Regions from separate parts of the Homo sapiens genome. Here all the other regions are linked to region 1. Evidence: promoter capture Hi-C in human tissues and cell types (Jung and others, 2019). All regions are on one chromosome and are shown on one strand. Each heading gives the region's core, a stretch centred on a gene start or on the middle of the fragment in contact. The rest is flanking DNA. Distances are from core to core; before and after follow the strand shown. Region 1 holds the start of IDUA (alpha-L-iduronidase). Region 2 overlaps LOC124900162 (a long non-coding RNA gene). Region 3 overlaps MAEA (macrophage erythroblast attacher, E3 ubiquitin ligase).

Region 1 (2,722 bases), core at 59-2,558:
CCTCGTGCCTCCCCCTCACAGGGTGGCCACCTGCACCAGCGTCAGGGCCCAGGGTGCTGTGACCGATGAGACCTCAGCTCAGCCCTCAGGTGCAGTGGCCCTACCCAGCCTGGCCAGCAGACACACACAGGGATGCTCACGGGTGCACCAGGAGCCAGGTGCGGCGCAGCCAACCCTGAGCCTGCAGGGAGACCTGCAGGAAGCCCACCGTGCCCCATGCAGGGGCTCCCTCCAGCACACAGCCCTCACCCCAGCACAGCCAGCAAGGACACGCTCTCCCCAACAGGGTGCTTCGGCGGGAGGTGGGGGAACAAGGGGTCTTCCGAGCAGCCCCCAGCCCTCCCCTCCCATCTGTGCCTCTGTAAGGGGCTCTGGGACGCCCAGACCCTGCCCGCCGCCCACCTGGTGGTGACAAGCTCCAGCAGCCAGTGGGTCCGGACCTGCTTGATGCCGCGGTGAGGGACGGCGCCCACATAGGCGAGGTTGAGCTGCTGGTCCCAGCTGAGGACGTACTGGTCAGCCTGGCTGTGTGGCAGCGGGGGGCTGGGGACAACAAAGGGGCGGCTCAGTCCCGAGCCTCAGCATGGCTGGCAGCGCGGCTGACACACACGTTCAAGCCCAGGACTGCCCGGGCGCAGGATCCAGGCGCTGCCCGTGCGTTCAGTGACTAATAAAATGACCCTTAGGGCCAGGAATGTGGGGAGGTCCCATCTTCATGGGGAACGGCAGCAGCAGTAAGACGAGGGGCCAACGCCAGCCCTGGCCCTGGCCCTGCCAGGAAGGCGGGTACCTCAGCTCTAGGTGGAAGGAATGGGACAGGCAGGCCAGGTCCCGCTGCAGGGCCGTCCACTCCCAGGGGAGACTCCTGGTTTACCTCAAAGAGCAGGATCCCGGGCATCGGCCTGGGCTGCAGGGGGCGGCCCAGGCTCACGCCCCGGCGCCCACTCAGGTGGAGGACCCACCCACAAACACGGCGGGGGGCGGGCCCGGGAGAGCCAGGGCCCCAGAGGAGGGAGCTCCGGTCTCTGAAGCTCTCACAGTGCGCAGTCAGGGGGCGCCCGAGCTCTCCCCGTGCGGCCAGGGGGTCCCGGAGGCCGCGGAGCGCTCACCAGAAGCCTGTGCTCCTCCAGAAGCGCCGCAGGGGCCACAGCGCGCGGGCCGCGTCCACATGCACCAGGTGCGGGGCCTCGGCCGGGGCCACCGGGGGCGCGGCCAGGAGCGAGGCCAGGAGCGCCAGCAGCGCGGCGCGGGGGCGCAGGGGACGCATGGCCACGCGTGCTCGGGGACTGCGGGGCTTCGGGCTGCACTGCCGGTTCCGCCTCCGGGTCGGAGTCTGGGCGCGCACCCCATGTGACCGCCGCCGCGGGGCGGGGCCTTGGTGAGGGGGCGATGGCCGGGTGGGAGGGGTTGGGTGGCCTCGGGGAGCCTCGGGGAGCCGGGAGCACGGCAGGGCTTGGAGCCCCGCTTCCTTGCGGGCCTCAGGGGCTGCTCTGAGGACCGATGACTCGGAAAGCGCTCAGAAGAACGCTTCGCCCGTTGGTGCTATGTGAGTTGAGCCATTACTGTCTTGTTTTTCTCTGTTTTTGTGTGTTTTTGAGACAGAGTCTTGCTTTGTCGCCCAGGCTGAGGTGCAGTGGCGCGATCTCAGCTCACTGCAACCTCCATCTCCGGGGCTTCAGCGATTTTCTCACCCCAGCCTCCTGAGTAAAGCGTGCGCTTTAGCAGGAAGGAGAATTACCCCAGAAGAGCACACTGGGCCCTCCTTACACTTGGCTTCAGATCCATGGATTCAACCAAGCAGACTGAAAATATTGTTTTAAAGCCAAAGCAATACGAAATAATACATATTTTAAAACAATACAGTATAACAGCTATTTACAGAGCATTTACATTGTTTTAGGGACTATAAGTAATCTTGATTTAAACTACACAGTAGGATGTGCGTAGGTAATGTGCAAATACTGTGCCATTTTATATCAAGTACTTGAGCACCTGCAAATTTTGGTATCTGGGAGGGTCCTGGAACCAATACCCCGAGGATACCATGGGACAACTGTAGTACATGTGTAGTCCATGTATGCATGTGTGAATCCAAGCAAACATTGTATAAAAATAATAATGGAAAGAACAGGCTTGGTGCGGTGGCTCACACCTGCAATCCCAGCACTTTGGAATTGCAGGCCAACACGGGAGGATCACTTGAGGCCTGGAGTTTGAAATCGGCCTGGGAGATGTACCAAGACCCCATCTGTACAAAAAAAAAATTTAGCCAGATGCGATGGTATATGCCTGTGAGGCCCAGCTACCCACGAAATTGAGGTGGGAGATTGCTTGAGCTTAGGAGTTCAAGGCTGAGACGGGCCATGATCACACCACTACATTCCAGCCTGGTTGACAAAATGAGACCCCATCTCTAAAAAAAGAAAAGAAAAAAAGAACAGTCTACTAACAAAACGAAAATACTGGACAATAATCCTCTCTAAGTTGGGAGAAGGATAATTAGAGTTACAGTGTTCTGGGTCTTTTTATTTTGGGGAGAGGGGTTAAAATATTGCTTAACATTAGGTCTTCTTATGTTGAAATTGCATTAAAAGTGATTAGCCATTTAAAAGTGAAATAGTGTGTATATATTCCAAATTAGCAAGGAGGAAAAACATAATACAAAAAAATTCATTAAGAAACTAAAAAGTAAGAAAGGGAGGGAAAGGCGAGAGAAACCATG
Region 2 (2,722 bases), core at 151-2,650, 380 kb after region 1:
GTGGTTCATGCCTGTAATCCCAGCACTTTGGGAGGCCAAGGAGGGTGGATCATTTGAACCCAGGAGTTTGAGACCAGCTTGGGCAACATAGTGAGACCCCATCTCTGCAAAAAAAAAAAAAAATTAGCTGGGTGCGATGGTGTACACCTGTAGTTCCAGCTACTTGGGAAGCAGAAGTGGGTGAATTGCTTGAGCCTGGAATGTTACGGCTTCACTGGGCTATGGTGGTGTCACTGCACTCCAGCCTTGGCAAGAGAATGATACCCTGTCTCTAAACAAAAAAACCCAAACCTCAAAACAAATTGGATTGTTTGTTTACTTATGACAGCAGTTTCTCCTTATCTGCTGGGTATACATTCCAAGACCCCCCAATGAATGCTTGAAACCATGGATAGTACTGAACTCTGAACTTTATACATACTACATTTTTTCCTATAAATATATACCTATGATAAAGTTTAATGTACAAACTAGGCAAAATAAGAGACTAAAAATAATAATAAAATAGAACAATTATAACAGTAAACTGTAATAAAAGTTACGTGAATGTGGGCTCTGTCTCTCTCTCTCAAAATATCTTGTTGCATGTAATATTTTCCGACCACAGTTTACTGCTGGTAACTGAAACCACACAAAGTGGAACCACAGACAAGCGTGTGGTGGGGGGTGCTGTAATGCATTTTGTTCTTTATATATTCCAGACATAAATCCTTTATCAGATATGTGATTTTAAAATACTTTCTTCCAGTCTATGAATTGCCTTTTTATTCTGTTAACAGTGTCTTCCCAAGAGCAGATGCTTTTAATGCTGATGAAGGCTGGTTTATTGTTTTTATAGATGATGCTTTTGAAATCACAGCTAAAAAATCTTTGTCCACTCAAGATCACAGAAATGTTCGCTTAGGTTTACTTCTAGCAACTGTGTAGTCTTAGGTGTGACATTTACGTCTGCAGTACATTTTGAGTTATTTTTATATGTGGTCCGGGTATAGATCGAGGCTCTCTTTTTCTTTTTGCACATGCATATTCAATAGTTCCAGCATCACTGGTTGAAAAGACATTTCTTTCTCTACGAATTGTCACATTTACATATTATACCACTTCACATACAGTGCAAGAACCTTACGTCAGTGTTATGGATTGAAATTGTGTCCCACAAAATTCATATGTTGAAATCCCAGCCCCCAGTACCTCATGACGTGATCGTTATTTGAAGGTAAGACCTTTAAAGAGGTAATTTAGGCCGGGTACGGTGGCCCGCACCTGTAATCGCAGCACTTTGGGAGGCCGGGTACGGTGGCTCGCGCCTGTAATCCCAGCACTTTGGGAGGCCGAGGCAGGCGGATTGCCTGAGCTCAGGAGTTCAAGACCAGCCAACATGGTGAAACCCTGTCTCTACTAAAATACAAAAAATCAGTTGGGCGTGATAGCGTGCACCTGTAATCCCAGCTACTCGGGAGGCTGAGGCAGAAGAATCGCTTGAACCCGGAAGGTGGAGGTTGCAGTGAGCTGAGATCATGCCACTGCACTGCAGCCTGGGCAACAGAATGAGACTCAGTCTCAAAAAAAATAAAATAAATAAATAAATAAATTTTAAAAATAAAGAGGTGATTAAGTAGAAATGAGGCATGAATGTGGGGCTCTAATTCAACATGGCTGGCATTCCTATAAGACGAGGAGACCAGGTCACACAGAGTCCCCTGGGTGAGCCCGCGTGGAGGGAAGACCATGTGAAGAGGCAGCAAGAGAGCAGCTGTCTGCAGACCAAGGAGAGAGACTTCTGCGGAGACCACACCCGTCAACGTCTTCATCCCAGACTCTCAGCCTTCAGAATGGTCAGAGGACACATTTCTGCTGCTGAAGCTACCTAGTCTGTGGTAGCTTGCTATGGAAGTGTTAGAAAACTAACAAGGAAAGTGGGGGTCTGTGTGTATTTGGGGGATCAAAGCCTTTGTGCAGAGGCCCCTGACCCTCCACTCTCAAGGCCTGGGTAGGGCTGAGGAATGACCGCATCTGTGCTTCTACAGGCTTGCATCGCCCTGGCAGCTGGAAGCCGGTTCTGCGGTGTTAGGTGAACACAGGGCACCTGACTGGTCCAAGCACGCCACCCAGAGGCAGCCTTGGAACTGCACCTGCTGGGCAGGACCTGGGCTCTACCTGCGTCCTTCCTGACAGCCCATCAGAGTCCATGGGATGGATGCACCTGCTCGTGCACCTGCCTCCAAGGTCTGTGGGCTAGGTGGGCCCAAGGGGGCCTGGTGTTGGCACAGAGCCTCTGGAGCCAGGAAGATGGTGGCAGTGTTTGGTGGCTTCTCCTGGCCTGAACATGGCCCCCAGGGCTGGGGTGGGATAGGATGCCCTCATCTGCAGGTCCTTAAGCGGTTGTGATGACAAGAAGTGGGAGTGGCTGCTCAGGGCCCCTGGGCAGCTGGACCTTGGGGACAGTCCCTGGGCTGGGAAGGCGCTCAGAGTGCACGTCTTAGCAGCCTGGGGTGCCTGCTGCCCTTGACGGGGACATGGGTGGGTTTTTATAGGGCAGGGGAGTGGCCGACCTTGGGTAGAAAGGAGCAGAACGAAGGCCGGAGGAGGGAGGTGACTGGGCAGAGGCAGCCCCAGTGGCCGGGCCGCTTGCCCCCGTCTGTCCTGTGGGGCTCCCTCACGTCCCTTCAGTCTGCCCCCACTTTGGCGCCTTGAATTTGAGAGAGGCCACGTGTTCTTGAAG
Region 3 (2,722 bases), core at 114-2,613, 310 kb before region 1:
CACAATCATGGCTCACTGCAGCCTTGAGCTCCTGGCTCAAGTGATACTCCTGCCTCAGCCTCCCAAAGTGCTGGGATTACAGGCATGAGCCGCTGTGCCTGGCTTGGTATTTGCTTTTAAATTCTGGTTCTATCTTTTCTGGTTATACCAAAGAATTAAACTTTTATTTATCACATCTCCCCAATTTTTCCTAAGTAATTTGTTGCATTACAGCTTTTTATGTTCACGGGATTTCTCTACTTAGCGAATGTTAAATTACATCTCCTCCAGTACATCTTCCCCTTTGGTGACTCACAGCAGTAATCCTCCCTGATTTCGTCACTGAAACAGAATGTGGCAAGCAGTGTGAGTGGAGACATGCGTGAAACGTCTGCACCTGCCCGCCCGCTGCCCCCACACGGTGCCATCAGCTTCAGGATGCGCTTCCTCAAACCTTCTCCAGCGTTTGCCGTGCTTCTGACAGAATTTGCTGACAAAACGCAACGCATTTCAGTGTGTCATCATCATGTTTTCACCAGCACGGGAAGGAAGAATTTCCCCAATGCATGAGGCTCTTTGTCTTTTGCAATTAACCAGAAGAGGTTTCTAAATATTGATCACGAAGCTCATCACAGGGCCAGAAGTGCTGGATTAAGCCCTGGGTGGCAGTTTACATCCCTCTCCGTCCTGGAGGGGCCAGTCTCATGTTCTGGTGCGGGGCATGTAATCACGGTGGCTTCCTGCCATCCTGAGCTAATCTCCCCAAGCACAGCACATACCCTGAGGGAGGCTCACCAAGGAAAAACGCTTCGAATCCCCTAAGAGGCTTCTTGAAAAAATGACACTTCCAGTCAACTTCTGAGGGGATGTAACCAGATTGATGTTGCGCCCTACAAAGCTCGCAGTGGCAAGAGTGCTGTCGGCCCTGAGCTCTGCGCTCCCTGTTGTGTGCACGCCCAGTTAGGCCCAGCCTTAGCCAGCCACTTCCTTGCAGGAACCTTTTAAAGCCACTGGTCCGTCTTGGAAAGGGTATGCGACCTGCGGCAGCGGCACACACGCACGCCACGCAGCCCCAGCCTCGGAAGCCGGCAGCACGGAAGAGCCGGGGCCGTGCCCCACGCGGTCCAGTGCCCTCATCCCCAGGTCACTCCCTGACCAAACAACAGAGACTGCAAGCGGGCAGGAGTGTCAGTTCATAATCACAACATCAGCAGAGCTTCCTCTCTCACCTTTCCATAAAGTATTTCAAAGGGAGCCAGCTGTTCTGCCACAAGGTCACAACTTTGGCAGTTACATACCTGGCTGTGGTGTCTGGCAAGGCCCAGCCCTTCTTGGTGTCCCTTTCATTATAAATAAGAAATATTTATCAAACACAAAAAGAACAATATGATATCATTACGGTTTTCATGCAGAAACACGGCATCCTCTGCTAGTGCCAATCTTCCTTCGGGCCTTTCCTGAAACAGCTCCGTGGCAGTCAGGCTGCCTGCTAAGGATGCTGTTGGATCGTCTGTCTCTGCTGCTTTGGGTTATGGTGAATGGGATGTGTTCTAACTGGCTGGCGGTGATATAGAGGGTGGCGACTGGGTTTCGTGCACTTACTGTATGCCCCGTTATTGTGCTGACTTTCTCAATGGTTACATTTACTTCTATTTCAATTCTTACTGCTTTAGACAGAATTGCCAAAATAATATTTAATATTATTTTGTTCATTTGTTAATTGGAGAATTTATTTCTTCTCTATCCTTCAAAAGAGCTTATAATCCCAGTGGTCAGAAACAAGCAAAATACCGTTATGTGAGACAGCGGTCACGACTCACGAGGGAAAAGGGCAGAAGTGGGAGATGCTGGGGCTGCAGTTTCAACAGTGGAGTCAGAGAAGCTTCACAAGCTGACAGCTCAGCGAAGATTGAAGGAGGTGAGGACATGGGACCACGGACGTTGGCAAAGATTGAAGGTGAGGACATGGGACCATGGACATCTGTGGAAGGAGCGCTCCAGACAGAGGAAGGTGGCAGTAAAACCCTGGGCTCGGCATGCTGGCCTGGCTGAATGGCGGCAGAAAGGCCACTGGGCCCAGCACCCTACAGGGCAAAGGGCCTGGGAGCCACTGTAACGACCCTGGCCTTCATCCCCAGGTCAGGAAACTCCTAGAACAAAAAGACGACAGGATCTGGCGCTGGGGCAGCCGGGGTGGGCATGAGCAGAGCAGGAGCAGCCAGAAGGCTATTCAATATTCCAGAGAGAGATGCGACTTGAGCCGCAGGGGCAGAGGTGGGAAGAGCAGCAGCAGCTGGGCCTGGGCATGTCCTGACGCCAGGGTGGAGGGGCAGACGGGCTGGGCATGAGCTGTGACAACAGAGGCATCAAGGCCAACCTGAAGGTTCTGGCCTGACCAAGGGAGATGGAGGGGCTGCCCTTCCCGAAGAGAAGGGAGACTGGTAGAATTGGTTTGGGCAGCAGGTGTTAAGATGATAAGCTCAGATCTAAATATGCCAAGGAGCTGGGCATGGTGGCTCACACCTGTTATTCCAACACTTTTGGACGCCCAGGAGGGAGGAATGCTTGAGCCCAAGAGATGGAGACCAGCCTAGACAACGGAGCTAGAACCTATCTCTACAAATAAAAAAATTAGCCAGACACGGAAGCAGGCGCCCGTGGTCCCAGTTACCCGGGAGGCTGAGGCAGGAAGATCACCTGAGCCCAGGAGGTCAAGGCTGAAGTGAGCTGTGATCATGCCACT

The links. The method cuts DNA at HindIII sites, captures the fragments that hold promoters and counts their contacts. A contact is called where the count stands out against the background at its distance.
Region 2: a contact is called between a fragment that was not itself captured here and the fragment with the promoter of IDUA in region 1, in 1 of the 25 tissues and cell types used here (lymphoblastoid cells).
Region 3: a contact is called between a fragment that was not itself captured here and the fragment with the promoter of IDUA in region 1, in 1 of the 25 tissues and cell types used here (lymphoblastoid cells).

The regions. Positions count from the first base shown.
Region 1 is chr4:985,630-988,351 of GRCh38, reverse strand. IDUA (alpha-L-iduronidase) reads right to left here and starts at 1,308. Exons shown (of 14, transcript NM_000203.5): 1 at 1,110-1,308; 2 at 403-543. The coding sequence starts at 1,267. SLC26A1 (solute carrier family 26 member 1) reads left to right here. Exons shown (of 3, transcript NM_022042.4): 3 at 1-695. RefSeq lists silencers at 842-1,019, 802-1,451 and an enhancer at 1,662-1,721. The HindIII fragment of the contact is 27,782 bases long and covers 1-2,722 here.
Region 2 is chr4:602,223-604,944 of GRCh38, reverse strand. The region is part of intron 1 of LOC124900162 (a long non-coding RNA gene); the gene reads right to left. Among named protein-coding and RNA genes, the nearest start is that of PDE6B, 22 kb to the left of the region's middle. The HindIII fragment of the contact is 9,672 bases long and covers 1-2,722 here.
Region 3 is chr4:1,298,937-1,301,658 of GRCh38, reverse strand. All of the region lies in intron 1 of MAEA (macrophage erythroblast attacher, E3 ubiquitin ligase), which reads right to left. Among named protein-coding and RNA genes, the nearest start is that of MAEA, 10 kb to the right of the region's middle. The HindIII fragment of the contact is 9,660 bases long and covers 1-2,722 here.